2 separate regions of the Homo sapiens genome follow, and region 2 is linked to region 1. The links are contacts of gene promoters, found by promoter capture Hi-C in blood cells and fetal thymus (Javierre and others, 2016). All regions are on one chromosome and are shown on one strand. Each heading gives the region's core, a stretch centred on a gene start or on the middle of the fragment in contact. The rest is flanking DNA. Distances are from core to core; before and after follow the strand shown. Region 1 holds the start of LINC02532 (long intergenic non-protein coding RNA 2532). Region 2 overlaps CRYBG1 (crystallin beta-gamma domain containing 1).

Region 1 (7,318 bases), core at 2,779-5,278:
ATTGTGGTGGTGGTCACACGCATCTACACAGGCGATAAAATGGTACAGGGACACACACACACAAACACACACACAAATGACAGCATGCAAAACTGATGAACTCTGTGGGTTGCACCAGTATCAATGTTCTGATTTTGTACTGGATGTTAGCATTGAGGGAAACTAAAAGTACACAGGACATTAAGTCAAGGAAAAACAATAATAGTAATTATTATTTTAATTAGTTAATAATTTAATTAATAACTAAAAATATTAATTCTATTAATATTTACTGAAAGCTAACAATACGTTAGGTCCTTCACTTTTTTTTCCTGTTTAATCCTTACGACACTCTTATGAAATAGATGTTGGTATTACCTATTTTTATAGACAAGGAAATTGAGTCCAAGTCATGTGAAGGTCACTCAACTAGGCTGTCTGAGTCAGAGCCCGGACTTCTAACATTGAAGTCCTCAAGGAAAAGGTTTAGATTGCAGTGACATGGGGGATAGGGTGGAATACAAAATTCAGCACGAAGGACTTCTGAGCAGTTCTGTGCGGGAGTGAGTGGAGCTTGCTGGCCGGGTGAAGTGCTCCACAGTGGGGCAGTTCTCAGAGCAGACTGGACAGACACGATCTGTCACGGCCCTGTCTTTTGGTTCCAGGCTACATCCACCTCTTAAATGACTTGGGCTTTCTCATCTGTACAAAGGGGAAAATAAGTTTTATCTCATGGGTTGTTGATAGAATTGCAAGAGGTATAACAAAGGGTTCCAAACCTTCAGCCTCCTGGAAGTCACACTTTCTTTAATATCCACATCGAATGGCTCAAGCCTCCATCCGAAATTACATGGGGAATCGCATTTCCCCTCAGCATTTTCAAAGATTCCCCAGGGCCTTCGCATTTGCAGAGCCTGCCTTTCCCTCCCATTCCTGCTCAGACCCAATTCTCGGTTGCCCAGTGTGGTCTTGGGCCCAGTGTTTGCCCATCAAAGCCACTGTCCTCTCTCCACACTGCTTCCTCCGTGCCGGACTTTGCTCCCTCCTTTTATTCTCCAAGCAACACCTACATCTGTTCACAAATGTTATGGTGGGTAGTGCTGGCACATTTGGCTGACTTTCACTGAAGATTTGGGGTAGCAGAAGAAAATTACAGTTCTACCTAATGCAGCACAAAAACATGCCAAGTCACACTAGACAAACTCTTACAAATTTCTAACAGGTTGTTTTAAGTACCAAAACCTCCTTCCTTTTTCTCTGGAAAGCCCCTTCTCTCTTCAATAACCATCCTCTTTCTTCAAGTGCTAGGGCCAATTTGGCAACCCTCCATCATTTTATTATGCTGAGTAGTCCAGCTCTTTTTAATTTTTTTTCTGTCTTCCAGACCAGGTCCTGGGGACCACCCTTCCTAAAGCAAAAGGGGAGGGATGCATCCGTCATTTTCCTCTGTGCTTTGGCCTGTGTGACCATGGGACAGTTATAGAGCCATGGTGAGCCTCCATTTACTTGTCTGCTATTTACTTGTCTACTTTGGAAGTGGAGAGTAACAGTACTTAAACCCCAGGATTATTGTAAAGATACAGTGAACATAAATCACTTAGACTGCACCAGAGCTTAGTGTCTGTTTATTCGTATGATTTCTCTGACTTTCACAACTTCTGGAGACATCCAACCTTGTTTCTCCTCTTGTTAGATAGTGAGAGTTTCTGCTGTTCCTGTCCTCCTGGACAGAGGGAGGTAAGTACTGTCCATCAGGGCACATTCTTGAAGTCTTTGCCTCTGCTGCGGGTGGTCCCTTTTTTTGATGTAGACGGCAGGAAAGAGTCTCAGTGTCCTGAAAGTGACCAGGCCTAGCCCTGCCCAGGACAAGAAGGTAGAAAGTGGAGGCCACAGTTGCTGTGGTCTGTTGATGAAGTGTTTGAATTGTATATTGACCCCACAGGAAATTAGATCATAGACAGTCACATGGCCCTGGAGACTTGGAGTAAGAACTGATGAGGGAGGCTCAAATGTTTGATGCATGGTTTCCTTTGAGAACAACTGGGAGGGAGTGGAAGGAATGGAATGGCATAGAAGCAAGGAAATGGATTTTAACAGTAGGATTTAAAGTGTCTATGACTATTGAAGTGTGTTGTGGATGAGATTTGGTGCATATGAATAAATACAAAGAGATGCTGTTCAGGGCCTTATGTAAGCAAGAATGGAACAGAGGGAGAGGGAGAGCTCAGCAGCCTTGCTGAGGCAATGGAGGCATGTGCACCAGAGCCAGGGCCAAGTGTGGCAAAATCTACTAAAGGTTCTTCAGAGGCTAGCCCACAATAGGATGGCCCCTGAAGTCCAGTAAATCTTGGTGTTCCACTCACCCCCTCCCCTGATGCGAGGTGCAGCTCCCTCTTTCCCCAGGGGCCCTTCCTCTTGACTGCCTCCCCCAGGATAGGGGGATGGCTATGCCCTGCTGGTTCCTGACCTTCTCCTGCTCCGTTGGAGACCATTATGCTTAAGCATTGATTATCTGTGTCCAGTCAGTGTTTTGCAGCATTCCTGGTGCAAATGGCCTGCCTGTGTGCTGAAGTGGAAGGAAAGGGCTCTTAGGGGCACATTCTGTGGTCCAGGAGGACACAGAGCTGACCTTATCTCTAGCTATTGGCCATCTGTGTTCCCTGGAGCAACAGAACACCAGGTGCAGAGCCCCAACATGGGGATGGAGCTTGGAAACCTGGCTGGAAACAGAAATGGAGCTACCCTGTTAGGTGGGGGACTTGGGCAGGAGAGTGAAAAGGCTCCTGTTTCTAGTGGGCGGAGAGTCTGGGGGTAGGGGTCTGGGTTCTCTCAGATGGCCTGTAGAAGAAGGGAAGATGCTGCAGAGAGGAAAAAGCCCCCATAAGGGACCAGATGCTGCACCCCCAGGTCCTATTTGATTTAGGGAATGAAGGAGGGAGGAGAAAAGAAAGAAGAAGAGGGGGAAGGAAGCTGCAGACTACTTGTTCTGGGCTAGACGCCATGCTGGGCTCCAAGAAGAGGTACAAAACACTGCATGGCACCCAGCACGTACAAGTCCCTTGGTCAGTACAGCTGTTATCATTACGAGTGACGTTACTGCTTAATTCTAACAACACCACCATAAGGCAGGTATTATTATACTATCTCTATTTTGTGGATGACAAAATTGAGGTTCAGAAAAGAGAAGCAATTGGTGTAGGGGGTTGAAAATTGAAACACAGCGTATCTGACTCCAACGCCTGTGTGTCCAAGCCCTGTGATAGGGAAAGATGTAGGTGTTCCACAGTACCTGGCAAGGCAACAACTGGCGATGGTAAAGGGCCAGTATGGAGTGGGGTTGGGTGAGGGTAGGGGAGTTAGGGAGGGAAAGAAGCCCTCTCCCTTGAAAAGTTCCCCAGGGCTGGGCTGCCGTGCAAAGCCACTCGCCAGGAAGTATGGGACCAACGGAGGCCAGAGGCAAGACTCTCCTGGCTGCCCCACAGGCTTAGAGCTGGGAGGCAGGTGCTGCGTGCCAGCAGGAAGAGCAGCCACTAGAAGAGAGAGAAGTAGCCCTGGCACCTGGGGGAGCCATACCTGGGATGGACAAAGGTAGGCATGGCTGCTGAGCCTGCACTGAGTAGATGGTCCTGGATGCTCCGGCAGGTGTGGTGCGGCTTGGTTTCCAGCAATCTTGCTGGTGGGTGTTCAGCCACTGACTGTATGTGTATATCTTTGTCATTGTTGTTATCAGTATTATGGTGATGACTTTCTCTGACTTTTATGCATTTAGGCTAAAGGAACCTGGAAAAACACATGAATCAAAATAAAAGTTGATTCACCTTTCCAGGGCAGAGTTACAAGCGTCAAAACTCTCAGGCGAGATCTGCCAGTGACGTTCTGACCGCATGCCTCTCTGCAAGGAAAGTGGTATGTGTTGTTTTTTCCAGCAGTGGAAATACAAATGATTAACTCTGGAAACCATGGCTGTTTCACTGATAACTAATTTGTTTGCTGATAAATGATTACCCAGGAGCCAGAATAGAGACCCAAAAGTCAAACTGCAAAAATTATTAAGTTCCCTCTGTATGCAGAATATTGTGCAACATGGTTATGGGTACTACAGTGGATGTGAGTGTGTAGACCTTGTACAATAGAGCTTATAGGCTAATGAGAAGACAGGAAGAAACAACAGGAACACATATAGCTGGAATGCAGATGGGATCTGTGCTACTTACGCTAGCCATGGGATGATTAGAACAAGATAAGAGACATGAGGAAGACTTCTTCAAGGAGGTGCTCAAGCCATGTTTTGGAAAAGAGAACTCAAGGTCTGGCAGGGAGAAAGGAGCAAGGTAACCAGGGGAAGTCTTGGAGGAGAGCAAGATGATGCTGAAACTGCCCTCACTGTTGGTTTTAATGTTGTTCTTGTCTTACTGGTCGATTCAGAGCATTCACGGTGCAAGAGAGATAGGGACATTTGATTTAAGAAATAGAGCAGAATCTCCTCAAATTAAATCAGAATTTTTGATGGAGTAGAGGTCAGAGCTATGTTTTGGAAGTGTTTGGGAAATTGTTAGTTTTGTTCCCAGGATCTGATGCTTTTGTGGTTGAATATTCCATGTGAATGTTTTCTCTGCCCATGCAAATAGTAGGTCTCCCAGACAAATATCTCAGTGGTGCCAGCACTTCATTTTCCAAATGTAGGAGGATCTTTCTAATACTTCCTTTGTGGGGAACATGAAACTGTTGGAGGCTTGTAATCATATCTATATTTTAAAGAAAGATTTTTTTTATCAACAGGCTATATGGAAATATATTCAAAACTGTTAGTATTATGGTTGGATATTAATTTTGAAGTATTATATAGTTTTTTTCCTCCTGTATTTCTTTCTTAACCCTCTCACCTACTTCTCTTCTTGTTTTTATTATTTATTTATTTATTTATTTTGAGGCAGAGTCTCACTCTGTTGCCCAGGCTGGAGTGCAGTGGCATGGTCTCCACTCACTGCAACCTCCATCTCCCAGGTTCAAGTGATTCTCTTGCCTCAGCCTCCCAAGTATTTGGGGTTACAGGCATGTGCCACCACACCCAGCTAATGTTTGTATTTTTAGTAGAGACAGGGTTTTGCCATGTTCTCCAGGCTGGTCTCGAATCCCTGACCTCAGGTGATCCCCCCGCCTCGGCCTCCCAAAGTACTTCTTGCTTTTTTGAGCAAGGTTACTCTGTCCTCATTGTCTTAGTGAAGGGATAGTCAACAGGGGACAGAGATATAGAAGCCCATTTTCCTGGCTTTTGAGTTTTTAAAGCCCTTGTGTGTAAAGGAAGGACTCTGACTTATACAAGAGATTTAGGAGAATATGTGGTGCTCCACTTGAAGCTCCCTGTCTCCAGTATCTGGGGACTTGGTGTGGGGGAGGTGGGTCACAGAGAAAGTAAGAACTGTATATTCATTAGGGAATTCTTGAATGTGGTATTGTGTGTCCTGGGTGAATGGGAATGGAACCCACTGATTAGCTTGTCGACATTTCTGTAGACTAAGATTTGTACCTGCAACTGTCTAGTGCTAAATGGTAAATATTTTTCTTCCAGTTGATTTGCCTGGGGTTCTCATTAACTTTCTAGAAGATTTTGGATAGAACTCTTGGATATTTAATGTCACAAATTTTAGTTTTGATCTTGCCTCTTGGGCTCAATGTTGCATTCCTGTAACTCTCCAAATTACCGAAAAACAATTATTGGAATAACCCAAGTTTACATGAAAAGTAAACACAGCAAAGAGCTGGAAAAACAGCATGTGATGGGTCATGGCCAGATTTGCCCATGGAAAGCCCCTAAGTGGATGTAAGTAGAAAATTCTTAGGTCCTGTAACATAAGTGCAGATAAAGGGAAGTTGCTTAATATGGAGCACCAGCACAGAAAAGAAGAATGATTTTACGTAAACATTGTGCAGTAAGTCTCTTAGAACCCCAAACCTGGGGCATAGGCCTAGGGGATGTGGTTTATTGGGTTAAAGAAGGATTGTCTGAAACGGTGATATACATCATCCTAGGGGCTGGCATGCCCTTTCTGGAGGGGAGAGGAGCCTTTGTTCTGGGCTTCTGGAGTCTTGTAGATTCCTCATCCTGAGAGCTGCTGCCCACAGCCACCACCCCACGTAGGTGTATCCAGTTTAGAAACAAAAGGGGGACTCTGGCAGGCTGGCTGCTATGCTGTATTTGTGGTCATTATTACTATTATTATTATTATTATTATTTTTTTTTTTTTGAGATGGAGTTTCGCTTTTGTTGGCCCAGGCTAGAGTGCAATGGTGCGATCTCAGTTCATCGCAACCGCTGCCTCCTGGGTTCAAGCAATTCATCTGCCTCAGCCTCCTGAGTACCTGGGATTACAGGCATGCGCCACCACGCCCCGCCAATTTTGTATTTTTAGTAGAGACGAGGTTTCTCCATGTTGGTCAGGCTGGTCTCGAACTCCCAATCTCAAGTGATCTGCCCACCTCAGCCTCCCAAAGTGCTGGGATTATAGGCATGAGCCACTGCACCCGGCCTTGTGGTCATTATTTTTAAATACTGTAGTATAAGTAATGGAATATGTGTGTAAACCAATTAATCCTAATCTGCTTTTACTCTTTAGGGTTGATTAATTAATGGATAACACAAAAAAGTGAACTCTAGTCTGTGTCAACAACTGAGTTTCCTTTATTTGCACACAAAAGTGTTAAAAGTAATTGTTGATTTGGCAAACCAGCAGATTTTTTTTTGTTTGGTTAGGAGTAATCTAATGGGACTAATTGTCTTGTGTGAATAAGGGATAAAAATGATCAAGCCCAATAATTATGCCATCTGTGTAGGGCTGGGAGTCTAGAGCCCACTGGTGTGACATCTCCAAGGATAAGACCACTCTCCCCTTGCCCCCCACCATCTAACCATAGGAAACCAGTCTTTGCGTTTGCTTCAAAAACTTGTCTCCAACATTTGCAGGCTGGGGCAAGAGTGCAAATGGAGACCCACATAGCATATGTTTAAACATCTAAAAGCTATAAATCCAGCTAAGAAACCATAATATAGAACATACTCTATCCTCTTGCCTTGAAAAATATATATTCAGAGGGACCTAGAATATCAAGTTTGGATATAGAATTCTTCAACTCAGAGTTCCATCTGCTTGTCCCAGTGTCTCCGTTCTCTGTCTGCTCCCAGCTCCATCCCTCATCCCATATTAAAGACACCCCAGTCTGCATAGCCCATTCTTTATAAATGGCTGCCTGGTGGCCTAGGGATGAGGACAGCCATGAGACAGATGATCCTCAGGACTCAGACCCCCTGAAGAGGCCTGAAGTGAGTTCAGGGCCCTTGGGA
Region 2 (7,318 bases), core at 3,576-6,075, 420 kb after region 1:
AGGCCTAAAGTTAGAGCAGCCAGGAGCAGCTTTCTGCAGCAACTGGTAAAGCAACTACTTGAGAAATTCTGCCATGCCTCTTTAGCATGGGCAGCAACTAGAGGGCCCCCCATCTACCACTTATCTCTGACCTTGCATTCTCCTGCCTGTGTCAGGGCAGAAGAAGGGGTACGAAGTAGGTCCACCTCTTGGTAATGCTTTTTTCTGACACAGCTTGGGCAGAAGCCCCAAACTCAGAATCTACACATGATACTTTCATTTATAATATATACTTTTGAATTTCTGTTTTAAAATCTTTTTTCATCTAAGATTTTAATGAACTTATATTTCTATTAATTAACATATTTCTTTCCACTATTTAACGTAGAAATTGTCTAGTACCAAAACTTAATTTATCATATGTATTTTAATTTCTACTTGTGAGATCTAGAGGCTAAATGAACTCATATAAGAATATAAAGAAAGCACCATTAACCACAGTGATTAACTTGCAGGGATTTACCTGCAGTGATTAACCACAAGGACTCAAGATCACCGGCTGGGGAATCCCAGCCTCACTCTTAATGAGCTCTGTGACTTTGACCAAATAATCATACCCCTCTGTGCCTGATTTTTCCTCAATATGGGACTAATAATAGTGCCTACCTCTGAGGAAAGTTATAAATTAACTGTAGTGGGTTAATATTTGTAAAGCACTTAGAACAGTGTCTGATACATAGTGCATATTGAATAAACTGCATCTCTCAATCAAATATTGATGGGAAACAATGTTTTCACAGACATGGTCTGAAGTTATTATAAAGCACATGCTTCCTCTATTTTCTTATCTTATATGCAGCATATATTATTTTGACCCTTGATCCTAATCATAAGATTAAAAAACGAATCCAAAGACTATCATGAGCTTATGCTACTACTTATAAACAAATTTGAAAAAAATTAAGAGGTGTACTCTGCATGGTGACTTTATGTAACTGTTGGCCAAATCTCATATTTGAGCTGTCGATATTACCTTTGGAATAAACCTAAATTCTAATGACTGAGACTCAGTTAGGGTTGCTAGCTTGAAATGGCACAAACAATAAACACAACCAGCAGCCAACTTTCTTCCCCACAGTATCTTTTGCCAAGCTTAACACCAACCTACTTTTACTCATTTAATTGCCATTTATGAGAAGGTAACAAACAAAAGGTACTTGTTAATTGTGTTTCTTTTTGTGTGTGTTAGCTATGGGTGCAACCTTTACTTGTCTATAACATGCCAGTGAGAGAGGTCGGGGACACTGCAAATGGATTCTGATTCTCTGCCCCATTTGTATGTCCTTGGGCCTCCTGGTACTTTGTCAAAATGTATGCTTTCATGAGATATTTATGAATCCATCAGTATTCTGAACACATTTAAATGACAAATCATGAATAAAATATATTATGTGTCACATTACTAGCATTACTTCAAGCTCTGTAAAGGGAGTTCTTGCATAGGTAACAATATATTGATAGGCTCCATCATTTTAAGTGACATTTTGTTGTTACAAATATGGTTCCTTCAAGCTTTAAATTTTTTTTGAAAACATGAATTAAGTTATGGTTGTTTATTTTTTTTTAAGTAGTAGGTGAGGTACTAATTATGGCAGAAACTCTTAAACTATTCAGTATCTCAGTAACCACACTATAGTATATACTGTATACTGGCTGAATAATTAGCAACTCAATCTAGGTCTCTGTTATGAGGGGTCATTGCTTCTCTTCCACTGAACGGAACAATCCAGAAGATGCACAGTGCTGTAAAGGCAGCACTAAGCAAGGGCTCACTCTCTAGAGGGAAGACTTCTCATATATTTGAATCTGTACAGGTATGTTGATGAGGCATTTGGGTTAGCCCAATGCAGCTATGTTTTAAGGCAACTGTAAATGAGCTAATGAGACTCATAAGCAATTCGCTGGTCATTCTTGCTAAGCTCCTCACAAGCATTAGACAGTCATACATCCTGTATCTTGAAAACTCACTTTGGGACAAGTTTTTCAAGGTAGACAGAAGAACACACCATTCAAGCTTCAAACGATCTTCTCATGTTGACCAGACACAGATTTTCAATACATAAATCACTTTTCTTCTGCATGGACATTCCTGAAACATAACTGACCCCTTAGCTGAACTCAAACTTTAAGACAGATGTGTGTGTGTGTGTGTGTATGTGTGTGTATGTATCTTTTTTAAGAGATGGGATCTCGCTATGTTGACCAGGTTGCTCTCAAACTCCTGGCCTCAAGTAAGTGATCCACCTGCCTCCACCTCCCAAAGTGCTGGGATTATAGGTGTGAGCCACCATGCCTGGCTCAGATATGTATTTTTAATGTTCATAGTAAGATATGTATTTTGAATGACTATTAGGAATTAGAAACTATTTCAATATCTAATATGTTTACTACATTGTTTTAATTGTGGACAAATACTACAGCAGCAACTCACTATCTCAGCTTACAAAAAAGATGTACTCATTTATTATTACGATTATTTTAGAGACAAGGTCTCACTCTGTCACCCAGGCTAGAGTGCAGTAGCATGATCATAACTCCTGGGCTCAAATGATCCTCCCACTTCAGCCTCCCCAGTAGCTGAGACCACAGGTGTGTGCCACCACACCTGGCTAATTTTTTTTTTTTTTTTTTGGATAAGCAGGGTCTGAGTTTGTTGCCTAGGCTGTCTTGAACTCCTAGGCTCAAGCAATCCTCCTGTCTCAGCATCCCAAAGTGCTGGGATTACAGGCATGAGCCACCATGCTGACCTAAAAATAAGATTTATAATCAAAAGCCATACATTCTGGCAAAACTATTAATGAAAAAGGGAGTATATATGTATTTGATTTTTTTTTTTTTTTTTTTTTAGACAGAGTCTGGCTCTGTTGCCAGGCTGGAGTACGGTGGCACAATCTTGGCTCACTGCAACCTCTGACTCCCTGGTTCAAGTGATTCTCCTGCCTCAACCTCCCAAGTAGACGGGATTACAGGCGTATGCCACCACGCCCAGCTAATCTTTGTATTTTTAGTAGAGACGGGGTTTCACCATGTTGACCAGGATGGTCTGGATCTCCTGACCTTGTGATCCGCCCACTTTGGCCTCCCAAAGTGCTGGGATTACAGGTGTGAGCCACCACACCTGGCCCAATATTTTTTTAAAAAAGAGCTAAAGAAGAAAAAAGAAGTGAACTCAAGTTTCGAAGGTCTTACTAAAGGTCCCCAAAAGGGTTTATGTCACTGCCACTTGATTATGGAGAGTAGATTGTGATGGAAAGTGTGGAAATAGAGGGGGGATAAAGTAATTCAATGACAGAGATAAGTGGCAAATGATTATCGTATGCTAAACTCAGACTCCAAAATCCCTTTGGGAAAAACTCCTGTAATGTCAAGTAGAAAGTTTAGCCTTGGCTTCCTCAGTGAGATATATTAAGACTTTTAAGGCACTGAGAGCGCATGAAGGGTCTCCCTTTTAGAGACCAACATGAACATCCAAATACTCAAAGGTACTTCAAAGCTTAACAGACCTGGTTACGACTTCTGGGCCTCTGAAGTTTTTACTCCACTCACAAAGTAACAATGTATGTATTAATACTACTACCATTACTATAAAGACAACAATAATTACAACTATCACTGCCAGTATTGCCCCTGCTACTGACCACCACCTTTCCTCTATCCAGCACTTGCTTTGAGCCAAGCCCTGTGCTGGGTGCTTTACATAGATAACATCCAATCCTCCTACAGCTCCATAAGAGAAGTGTAATTGCCTCCATTTTACAGGTGAAGAAACTGAGACTTAAAGAGGTTAAAAATCTATCCCAATGGCAGAGGCAGATTTGAAACTAAGTCTGCCCAACACCAAAGTCTACTATCCTTTGACTGTGGCATGCTTTCAGAGGTACTATTTACTGAGTTTCTGTTATCTGCCAGGTACTAGGCTAGTCATTTTTAAAAAATATATATTTATAACTCTCAAAAACAATGTTAAGAGATAGGTCACAGATCATACAACAGAAGTTATCGGGGTAAACTAACTTCCCAAGAAGCTCACAGCTAGTGGCAGACTTACTTTTAAATTACTGGTTTATCACTGGTGAAATAAAATAAACCTAAAAATTAAAACTCTTTCCTTTAGTATAAGGAAAATAAGAGGGAAAACTCAGTACTAACCAGTTTAAATCTAACATTACATAAAACAAAAATAGACTTACCTGGCTATGTTCTTTATGCTAGAAAATAATTAAACCTGTTTAGAGTTCTAAGCACCAAACCAGCCACAAAAGACTGGAAACTAGAATCAATTTTAAGTTACGAAGACTAACACTCTACAGTTCCAGAATGCTTTCAAATAACATTTTAAATGATTGTTCTTTTTCTGAAGAAAAAAGAAAAACGCTCCAGATAACAATAGTTTATCCTTACAACATTCTAGTGATATAAACAGGGAGTTAGTTGTTTTCTCTTTATAGAAGGGAAAGGTCCACTGAGTACAGAAAAACTAAGGGATTGTCTATAGTTCTGAAACTTGAGCCTGCTGGCCTTCACTCAGAGGTAGATCTCTGCCTGCCCAATGAGGATGCTCTGCCCTTGACACTGGCTACACTTTTCCTCCAACTGAAACAAGGCGAGCTGATTTTCACAGGATTATGAGACCCATCTACTGCTTGAATTTGGCTCTCCTGCAGGGAGCATTAATGCTTGTTTCTAGATGTGGAGTTCAATTCAGTTCAATGGTGATAATTTTTAATTCACTGCTTTTTTTAAAAAAAAATACAGGTTCTTAAACAAAGAACTCAATGGAAATAATTCACTGCTTTTGACCTTTAGCTAAGGACCCACTTCTAATCAAAATAACAAAAAGTATGGCCACATGTGGTGGCTCACACCCGTAATCCTAGCACTTGGGAGGCCAAGGCGGGAGGACTGCTTGAGCCTAGGAGTTTGAGACCAGCCTGGGCAACATAGTGAGACCCTGTCTCTATTTATGTTTTTTTTTTTTTGGTTTTGTTTCGTTTTGCTTTTTTTGAGACAGAGTCTCACTCTGTCACCCAGTCTGGGGTGCAATGGCACGATCTCAGATCACTGCAACCTCCACCTCCCAGGTTCAAGTGATTTTCCTGCATCAGCCTCCCAAGTAGCTATGATTACAGGCGTCCGCCACCACCCCTGGCTAATTTTTTGTATTTTTACATACATGGTTTCACCATGTTGGCCAGGCTGGTCTTGAACTCCTGACCTCAGGTGATCCACCCGCCTCCACCTCCTAAAGTGCTGGGATTACAGGTGTGGGCCACCACATGCAGCCTTTTTATGTTTTAATATTTTTACTATTTTTAATATTTAAAAAAACCAAAATAACACAAAGTGGCTTGAATAGATAAAAAGAAAGTACCACTTTCATTATATAGCAGAAAAACACACAAAATTCCTACTCCAAAGGAGGCATAAGCAAGAAACTAGTAAGAAAAAGAGAAACAACTCCCATTGGTTGAGCACATACTATGTGCCAACCACTGTTCTGAGCACTTGAAATGCATTAACTCGTTTATTTTTATAACAACTCTTATGATTCCCATTTTGTGAATGAGAAAATTGTGGCACAAAAATGTTAATAACTTTCCTAGGATGATAGGATTCAGTGTCATGGTAAGTATTAACAGAAGAACAAGAATTTAAATCCAAGTAGAGAATCCACATTCTGAGCACATTATTCACAAGACAGAGTATAATTTAAAATGTGGTAAATGACAGTGCCACTAGTGGCTGCTAAGTGGCCTGGCCACAGCTCGCCATGCTCATTCCACCACACCACTAGACCCTCTAATGGCAAGAGAATTATGGACTAGACAGGGGATGGGGCTGACTCAGGAGGGCAGCAACTCTATCTTTGTGAAAAATAACATCATATGACCATGTTTACCAAAACCAAGCTGAAAAAAAACTTTAAGAGTAAATTTTGGAAAGAGAAGTAGCCAAGTTCAAATTATTTCATATAAAGAAATAATTGATTAGAATGTCTATACCAAAAGCCACAAATATTTGCAGAATACGAAAATCTGACTTTAATAAACTTTAAATCATCTTTGGACTGGCAAGCTTTTCTTTCTTTTTTTTTTTATTTTTTGAGATGGAGTTTCACTCTTGTTGCCCAGGCTAGAGTGCGATGGCATGATCTTGGCTCACCACAACCTTCATCTCCTGGGTTCAAGGGATTCTCCTGTCTCAGCCTCCTGAGTAGCTGGGATTACAGGTGTGAGCCACCATGCCCAGCTAATTTTTTTGTACTTTTAGTAAAGATGAGGTTTCACTATGTTGGCCAAGCTGGTCTCAAACTCCTGACCTCAGGTGATCCACCTGCTTTGGCCTCCCAAAGTACTGGGATTAGAGGCGTGAGTGACCGCACCCGGCTGGACTGGTAAACTTTTCTAGGAAAAGATCTTCCTAGAGTTGGTTTTCCCCTATCCAAACCTATCTTTTCCATTTCTTCCATTAGACCTTTGCTTTGATGATGATGATGATGATGATGATGACCAGGATGCTTTTGCATTTACTGAGTTTCTACTTTGTGCTCAGAAGTGTGTTAAGGTTTTTGCACTTAATAACATAAACTTTCATTTAATATTCATGACAACCCTACAGAGTCAGCATCCTATTGTCTCCATATTACAGATGAGGAAATTGAGATTTTAAGAGGTGAAATAACTTGCCCAAGGTCACAAAGCTAGTAGATAAATTCATTTTTTTCTGACCTAAACACCCATAATATTAATCAAATAAGCAAATATGGGTGGCTACCTGACTGTCCCCTCCTTATTTAGAGACAAAAACCACAGTGAGTGCTGCACATTCCAGCCAAATTCCATCACTTCCAAGTCCTGGACAGAAATGAAGGGATATGGTCAGGAGGCTTAAGAGAGCCACACTGGGCAAACTGGCTTGAAATCTAAGGGTGCTTTTGCCACTCTCTTTAAACCAGAAAGAAGTACACTCTCTTAGAAGTAAATGAAATATTTATAAAGATGATCTAACTAGAAAAACATCCCAAAGACAGACTAGTACGTTTAGTTTTTCAGAACATTTATTAATACGAAGTTCATCACGGTTCTGAAGGAAAAAATGAAGTGTTTCAAGACTGCACTAAAATATAAAAAAACTCAAGGAGAGAAGCAAATCTCCTATTTTAATTTTTTTTTTTTTTTTTTTTTTTTGAGACGGAGTTTCGCTCTGTCGCCCAGGCTGGAGTGCAGTGGCGCGATCTCGACTCACTGCAAGCTCCGCCTCCCGGGTTCACGCCATTCTC

What was found. Contacts are between HindIII fragments. The CHiCAGO score rates a contact against its expected background, and 5 or more counts as called.
Region 2: a contact is called between a fragment that was not itself captured here and the fragment with the promoter of LINC02532 in region 1, in 1 of 17 cell types (M1 macrophages). The highest score is 5.0, in M1 macrophages.

Annotation. Positions count from the first base shown.
Region 1 is chr6:106,784,251-106,791,568 of GRCh38, reverse strand. LINC02532 (long intergenic non-protein coding RNA 2532) reads left to right here and starts at 4,028. Exons shown (of 7, transcript NR_033557.2): 1 at 4,028-4,310. The HindIII fragment of the contact is 9,342 bases long and covers 1-7,318 here.
Region 2 is chr6:106,363,152-106,370,469 of GRCh38, reverse strand. The region is part of intron 1 of CRYBG1 (crystallin beta-gamma domain containing 1); the gene reads right to left. Among named protein-coding and RNA genes, the nearest start is that of CRYBG1, 6.1 kb to the right of the region's middle. The HindIII fragment of the contact is 2,582 bases long and covers 3,535-6,116 here.